Regions from separate parts of the Homo sapiens genome. Here regions 2 and 3 are each linked to region 1. The links are contacts of gene promoters, found by promoter capture Hi-C in human tissues and cell types (Jung and others, 2019). All regions are on one chromosome and are shown on one strand. The core of a region is centred on a gene start or on the middle of the fragment in contact, and the rest is flanking DNA. Distances in the headings are between cores, read along the strand shown.

Region 1 (2,628 bases), core at 57-2,556:
GGGGAACTCTCACCCAAGCCCTCTAGCTACCCCACCTGTTGGTGGATTCCCTTCCTCACCCCAGAACCAAATCCGGAGCTCTCATGTTCCTTCTGCCGGGTCCCAGGGCCCTAAAGAGTAGGTTTCCCTACAGCTCCCCACCCCTCGCTCTGGCTGAGGTTGTGCGCAGGCCTGGGAGGAGGAGGTTCAAGCCGCTGGCTGGTGGCCGGCTTCAGCCCACCAAGAAAGGCGACTCCAGGGACAAGAGCACCTGAGGTCAGGGGCACACACCAGCGGGCGGACAAGTGTAGAGTTGGCGCCGCCCTACACCTCTCTCCGGGAAGAGAGGGGAGGAAAGGCCGTCACCTGGCCGGTTCCCCTCCGTCTGCCCCAGGCGTATAAGAAGCAGGAGTCTGGAGCCCCAGCCCATGAGGGAAGGAGAGGAGAGATAAATGGGGGCGCTCAAGGCCTGGGGCGCCGGGCAGGGGTCTTGGGCAGGGATCCTCTGGATGTGGCCAAGACAAAGATGGAGAGGTAAGGTCTGCGCGCCACCTCCAATGGCGGGGGGCGCGTCGGAGCCCCAGGGGTGGGACGGCCAAAGCCCAGGGCTTGAAGAGTGGGCACATTCAGGAGACTCAGGGAGGGTGGCAGGTCGGCTCCAGGGACGAGGCAAGGGGCCTCCAATAGGCGCGGGTGAGGAGGGAGATGGGTCCTGGCGACCCAAAGGGCCCACCTGCGGGAAAGGTGAATGCAGACAATCTCGGGGTCCCTGGGGGAGAAGGCCAGAAGGTAGCGCATCCTGGAGACCCTGGGGTCCCGTGGGTGCGGAAGGAGACCCTGGGGGCGCCTTCCCAGGGGATTGGGGGTGGGGAGGAGGGCGCACGGGTCGGGGAGGGGGCTACCGGACCTGGATCCCGGGACACCCCGGGGGTCTGGGGGGCGGGCCGCGCGCTTACCTGCGTCCTCGTCGTCGAAGGAGTTCATGCACGGGAAGTAGATGGCGAGCGCCTCGAAGGAGGCGGACAGACTGAGGCGGCTCTGCGAGCGCTCCATGCCCGCGCCGGCGCCGGGCGCCTCGGCCGCGGCGGCGGCGGCGGCGGCGGGCGGCTTGGGCAGCTTGGCCGCCCCATTCTTGACGCGGAGTACGGCGCGCGGCGTGGTGGCGGCGGCCCGGGGCCGGGCCGAGGCTCCGCTGCGGGGCTGGCGGGCGCGGCGGGGCCGGCGGGCGGGCCAGGAGCTGGCGGCGCGCGGAGCCCGAGGCGCGCTGTGCTGCTGGCGGCGGCGGCGGCGGCGGCGGTGGCGGCGGCGGTGGCGGCGCAGCGCGCTCTGGTCCGCGGCGCCCCCCGCCGGCAGCGCGAGGCGGGCTTGGAGCGGCGCCGCAGCCAATCCGTGCCGCCGGGGGAGGGGGCGCCGCTGCGGGGCGTGGGAGCCCGGAGGGCGCGGGCTGCGGCCTCTTCTAGCAGCCCCCGGGCCCGGCAGGTGCGCGCGGGGAGGCAGGCGCCGGGCGAGGTTGTCTGGGCCCTGGTCCGAGGGCTGTTCCCGACCCCGCCTCGGCCCCCACCCTCAGCCGGCCGACTTGCGGAGAGGCCGGCGTCCAGTCCCTCACCCAGACAGGCCTCTCCCAGAGACACTGGCGCGCTCGGAGGGGATGCGCTCAAAGGGTCCCGCCCAGGCGGGTCGGCACTCGGCCTCCCACACAGAGACCCTCGGCTTCACACCTGCACCCACAGAGAAGCTCAAACAGGCACCCACACCTACACATTCACTCTGCAACATGCCCCGCAGACACCCGGACAGATACACCCACAGACCCACCCCCTCACAGATGCGGGGACAGACACGTCCACGGACACACGCAGACTCACGCAGAGACCTGCAAACACACTCAGGGAGGTAGGCAGGACATCCCTGGTGCCCGGCCTCCCTCACGGGGAGACTCTCAGATGCCACAAAACCCCACGAAGTTCAGGTAGGCATACACAGTCTCATGCATTCACACTTACCAAAGACACCCCAGAATTCATACACACATTCATACACTCAGATGAACACACAAGCCCAGACCCAGCACACACTCTGTGTCGCCTCCCCCTGTGATCATCTCAGCACTGTCAAACACTCTGACTGACACGGCCAGATGCACACACCTTCACCCTCAGACACACTAGAGTAGCACACACACGCCAAGACACAGCCACACAGACTCCATCCCTCCCAGTGTGGGTGCATCCCGACGGATTGACTGACACCCTCAGACTCAGGTACACTGAGACACACTTGGCAGGCTCACACTCACAGACTCTCCCATTATCACCCTCGGCGACCCGCAGTCCTCAGACACACACGGGCTCAGACACTCACAGCCCCAGGACAGAGACGAGCGAATCGGAAACCCGTGTTCCATTCCCTGCATGTGACCTGGGACGTGAGGGTCCCTGCCCACCTAATCAGGCCCCAGATGTCAAACAACCTTCTCAGCTGCTCGCACACCTCTTTATGAAGCCATCTGGCGACATGGAAACAGTTCAGGCCTCAGAAAGAGACAGCCCAGAGTTTGAATCTCAGCTGTGGTGCTGTCTTTCTGGGTGGCCTATGGCAAAACTCTTTATCCCATGGGTCCTGTTCCTCATCTGTACAATGGGGACAGGA
Region 2 (2,628 bases), core at 89-2,588, 50 kb before region 1:
TAGCTACCATCTGGATCCCGAGAATGAAACCATCAAAATGACAGCATTGTGTGAGCTCCTGGATCAAGCTCTGCCTGAAGCAAGCTACTTCATCTTTTGGTTACGTTAAGTCAATATCAACAGCAACAACAAAGATAATTTTATTATTTTGCCTAAGACAGCTTTAGTCAGTTCTCCCCACTCCCTTCACTTCTCTAAGTATCTCTTTCCCATCTGTGAAATGGGAATAATAATGTTCCCATCTCCTAGGTCTGTTGTATTAAGTGCGATGAGGCACTAAGTACCATGCCTGATGTGCCTCTGTTATCCTGAGCACCAAAGCACTTGCAACCCATTTTCTCATCTGATCCTCACCACAACCACAGGAGGTTTTTTTTGTTGTTGTTCTGGTTTTTGTTTTTTTTTTGAGACAGAGTTTCCCTCTGTTGCCCAGTCTGGAGTGCAGTGGCACGGTCTTGGCTCATTGCAGCTTCGAACTCCTGGGTTTAAGCGTTTAAGCAATTCTCATGCCTCAGCCTCCCAAGTAGCTGGGAATACAGACGTGTACCACCACGCCCGGCCAATTTTTGTGTTTTTTAGTAGAGACAGAGTTTCATCACATTGGCCAGGCTGGTCTCCAACCCCTGGCCTCACGTGATCCACCCACCTCGACCTCCCAAAGTGCTGGGATTACAGGGGTGAGCCACCACGCCTAGCCCAAGAGGTTGGCTTTTGATCTTTATCACCATCTTTTAAATAAGAAACACATTTGCCCAGCAAAAGGGTGACCCTATTCCCTGGCCAGAGATGAGGCATACAGAGTCAGAGGCTTAACCCAAGCCAGGCCAATCAAAACCTCTCTCTGGGAAATAAAAAAGAGAATCCTGGAGACTAAAAGTCACAAGAACTGAGCCATATAAATGGCCTGCCCTCAGGCAAAACCCATAAACTCTACTAGCTACCCAGTCTTGGCTGCCCGATTCTTCCCTGAACCATTTGAAGTCCCCCAGTGTTCTGTTTTTACTTAAGTTATCTGCAGAGTTAATGGCAGAATATTCAGCCTGAGTGCTTTCCCTTTTCCTGATTTCCTACTACCCCTGGCTTGCTTTCCCCATTCAGACAGTAGCCAGGGTGTCCTATGTTGGCTGCCTCAGAGAAGGAATGACCCAGCAGGAGGTAGAGAGCAAGAGACTTGGGCTCTTGACTTTTCAGTTCCAAATCTAAGAAACAGACTTGAAAGAATAGGTACAAAACTAGGCTATCCTGCCCCGAAACAGACAAACCCTCAGCCTGGGAGAGCAGAGGAAGTCAGGCAAGGAGGGAACAGAGCTGAGATGCTGCAGGATCCTTGAGGACGGTCTGTAGTCTGCAGCTGGTGAGTGCTGGGGGATGACAGAAAACTCCAGATAGGCTGGGGGGATCTGAAAGCAGAGGAGACTTGCACTTACTCTTCTTATTGGGTGGAGCTAAGAAAAGGGCAGAACACTTTACAGAAATGGCTACTTGGGCTTCTTGTCAAGTAACCCCCTGGGAGATCTCTGAGGCTCTCTGTACATCCCTCCATACCCTAGAGAGGAACATATGATCCAGGTGCACTGGAGAGAAGGGCAGATCCATAGAGGCCTGGTGGTCTGGGCAAAGAGAAGTAGCTGAGACCAATGAGAAACAATGACCAAGGAGCAGACAGTAAGATCACGTTCCAGGAGACACCAGGATGATGGATGATGATTGCAGACCACACACTCTGTCCCCAGTGTCTGAGCACCACAATAATAGCAGCCAATGCTACTGGACACGAGCCCTCACTGACATTCAGCTGGTACACCAGGTGTTATGGCCGGCGTCCATTTGATCCATTCATTCAACCAACAAATGTTTACTGAGCACATACTATGCACTCTATTGTGTCCAGGCACTATTCTGGACACTTGGAATATGTTAGTGAACAGTGATTTCTGCCCTTCAGGTGCTTAGATTCTAGTGACATATTACACACAATTAATATCATAAACATTACAGTATGTTAGAAGGTGGTAAATGATAGAAATCTTAGTAATAAATAAGTAGAGAATTAATGTGGGCAGGGGGGGATGTGGGCGGCAATACAAAATAGTGTGATCAGTAGCTGTGACTTGTGCTTCTTATTAAATACTTTGATAGTTACCCTGGGCCTGTTCTAGAAATTTACACAGATTCTCTCCACATAAACTTCCCCAGGACACAGGCATAACATTTGGGAAAATCCTGAACCAAGTGGGTCTAAGTTTCCAGCAAACAGAGGACACAGCGGGACTTGATACAGAGATTAGCAACAGCGAACTCCCAGTGCTCACTAAATGCCACAAATGTCAAAGTGCTCTATACTTATTAATTCATTTCAGCCTCACAACAACCCCATGAGGTCAATACTGTTACTGGGCCCATTTTATAGATGAGCCGGAGAGTTAAGAAACCTACCCAAATGACACAGGTACTGCATGGCCCCACCCTATCCCTCAGCACTCACCTCTATACTTTGAAGCTACCTGCTCTCACACCTGCCACTAGGTCTGAGGGCTTATTTTCTGGCTGTGAGAATTCTGAATTTTGCTGGGGAAGCAAATTCAGCCTGTGGCACAGGGCAGGCTGGAAGCACCTGAGGGTTCATGC
Region 3 (2,628 bases), core at 44-2,543, 34 kb after region 1:
GGGTTCAAGCAGTTCTCCTGCCTCAGCCTCCCAAGTAGCTGGGATTTCAGGCCACCATGCCCAGCTGTTTTTGTATTTTTAGTAGAGACAGGGTTTCACTGTGTTGGCCAGGCTGATCTCAAACTCCTGACCTCAAGTGATCCACCTGCCTCGGCCTCCCGTGTGAGCCACTGCACCCGGCTGGTTAAATTATTTTAAACTAAGAAGATAAGAACTGAGGTTTCACAACAGCTATCACCAATACTATCATTTTGCCCATTTTCAATTGACAAGCCATGTTAGTTTCCTATTGCTGCTACAACAAATTGCCACAAACTTAGTGGCTTAAACAATGCAAATGTGTCATCTTACAGTTCTGCTGGTTACAAGTCTACATGGGCACCTTGGGCTGCGTTCCTTCCCGGGACTACCTGCATTCCTTGGCTAGTGACCTTGTTCATCTACCCAGCAACAATGATCAAGTCTTTCTTATCACTCCAACTGTTCTTCTGTAGTCGCATCTTCTTCCCTCTGAATGTCCTCTCCTGCCTCCCTCTTCCACTTTTAAAGACCTTCGTGATTACATTGGGTCCACCCAGAGAGTAACACAGAATACTCTCCCTGCCTTAAAGTCAGGCAATTAGGAGGGTTTTGTTTTTGTTTTTGTTTTTTGAGACAGGGTTTGGCTCTGTCATCCAGGGTGGGGTACAATGGCGTGATCTTGGCTCACTGCAACCTCCATCCGCCTGTAGGACTCAAGCAAGCCTTCTACCTCAGCCTCCCAAGTAGCTGGGACTACAAGTGGGCACCACTTTTTTTTTTTTTTTTTTTGGTAGAGATGGGCTTTCACCATGTTTCCCAGGCTGGTCTGGAACTCCTGGGCTCAAGCGATCCTCCTGCCTTAACCTCCCAAGGCACTGGGATTACAGGAGTGAGCCACCACGCCCGGCAGATTAGCAGTCTTAATTCCATCTGCAGCCTCAATTCCCTTTGCCATGTAACCTAACATATTCATAGGTTTGGTTTTAGGACATGGGCATTTTTGGGAGGCCATGATTGTGCCTACCACACAAGCCAAAGACCCAGAGAGGCTAAATAATTTGCCACAGGTTATATGGCTAGAAAACGGTAGAGCCAGACTTCAAAAGCAGGCTGACCCCAGCACTTTGAATGAGTGCTGACCCAAGCACTCTCATTGTTAATCATTGCACTACACTTCCGTAGCTCGTTTTCCCTTCTCAGCAACCCTACTGTGAGGTAGGTATGGTTATGACTGCTATGTGCAGTTTACAGTTGAAGACATGAAGACTCTCAGGGATGATGTGGCTTGCCCAAAGTTCACACAGGTAGTGGAAAGCAGAGGAACCAGGTTAGTCGGACTCAGATAAGAGATGTACCCAAAGCCAGGCACGGTGGCTCACACCTGTAATCCCAGCACTGTGGGAGGCTAAGATGGGAGGATCACTTGAACTCTAGAGCTTGAGACCAGCCTGGGCAACATAGGTAGACCTGTCTCCACAGAAAACTTTAAAAAATAGCCAGGCGTGGTGATGTGCGCTTGTAGTCCCAGCTACTCAGGAGGCTGGGGTGGGAGGATTACTTGAGCCTGGGAGGTCAAGCCTGCAGTGAACTATAATTGCAGCACTGCACTCCAGCCTGGGTAACTGAGCAAGACCTTGTCTCAAAAAACAAAAAAACAACAAAAACAAAAACAAAAAAAACAAAAACAGAGAGAGAGAGAGAGAGAGACAGAGGTACCCACAATGAAAGGAAGACATTGGCTACTGTGAGAGTGAGATTGTCATCCTTAAACCAAGAGCATTTCAGCTGGGCGCAGTGGCTCACGCCTATAATCTCAGCAATTTGGGAGGCCAAGGTGGGTGGGTCACCTGAGGTGGGGAATTTGAGGCCAGCTTGACCAACATGGAGAAACGCCATATCTAATAAAAATACAAAATTAGCCAGGCATGATGGCAGGTGTCTGTAATCCCAGCTACTCGGGAGGCTGAGGCAGGAGAATCGCTTGAACCCAGGAGGCAGATGTTGCGGTGAGCCAAGATCACGCTATTGCACCCCAGCCTGGCAAAAGAGCGAGACTCCATCTCAAAAAACACACACACAAACAAAAAACAAACCACAAGAGCATTTCAAATACTTTTGCTAAAATCAACAGCTCTTCCCTTAGGTATCCCACAGTACTGGACTACTCTCATTTCCTTCAGACCTCTTCTCAAATGTCAGCTACTCAGCGATACCCTGACCACCCTATCCAAAATAGTAGCTCTCATGCCCCAACCCCCATTCTCTTGTCTCTTCTCTTACTGCTTGTCATAATTATGTAAATTTTTTGTGCTAGAACAAATGCTTCATGAGAGCAGGGGCTGTGTCTGTTTTGTACACTGCTGCATTCCCAGGGTCTGGCATCCAGCAGGCACTCCATAATTTTTTAGTCTGAAATCAATAATAACTTAATCCAATCTCAATATTCTCATCAATGGACTTGAGAATAAGCAAATGTTATTAATGTATCTACATTAGATACTGGGACTCTTGGCATTTCAATTGAAAAAGGCTTTCGGAGATATGAAGGACTGGACCAGCAAGAGATTCTCCAAGTTTCTAGCCTTGGCTGGTCATGAAACTTTTAAG

Evidence for each region. Contacts are between HindIII fragments. The study calls those that stand out against the background at their distance.
Region 2: a fragment that was not itself captured here is called in contact with the fragment with the promoter of RIMS4 in region 1 in 1 of the 25 tissues and cell types used here (spleen).
Region 3: a contact is called between a fragment that was not itself captured here and the fragment with the promoter of RIMS4 in region 1, in 1 of the 25 tissues and cell types used here (stomach).

What each region holds. Positions count from the first base shown.
Region 1 is chr20:44,809,240-44,811,867 of GRCh38, forward strand. It overlaps RIMS4 (regulating synaptic membrane exocytosis 4), which reads right to left and starts at 1,307. Exons shown (of 6, transcript NM_182970.4): 1 at 936-1,307. The coding sequence starts at 1,032. The HindIII fragment of the contact is 17,434 bases long and covers 1-2,628 here.
Region 2 is chr20:44,758,862-44,761,489 of GRCh38, forward strand. The region is part of intron 2 of RIMS4 (regulating synaptic membrane exocytosis 4); the gene reads right to left. Among named protein-coding and RNA genes, the nearest start is that of KCNK15-AS1, 14 kb to the left of the region's middle. The HindIII fragment of the contact is 8,944 bases long and covers 1-2,628 here.
Region 3 is chr20:44,842,836-44,845,463 of GRCh38, forward strand. No RefSeq gene overlaps it. Among named protein-coding and RNA genes, the nearest start is that of RIMS4, 34 kb to the left of the region's middle. The HindIII fragment of the contact is 4,463 bases long and covers 1-2,628 here.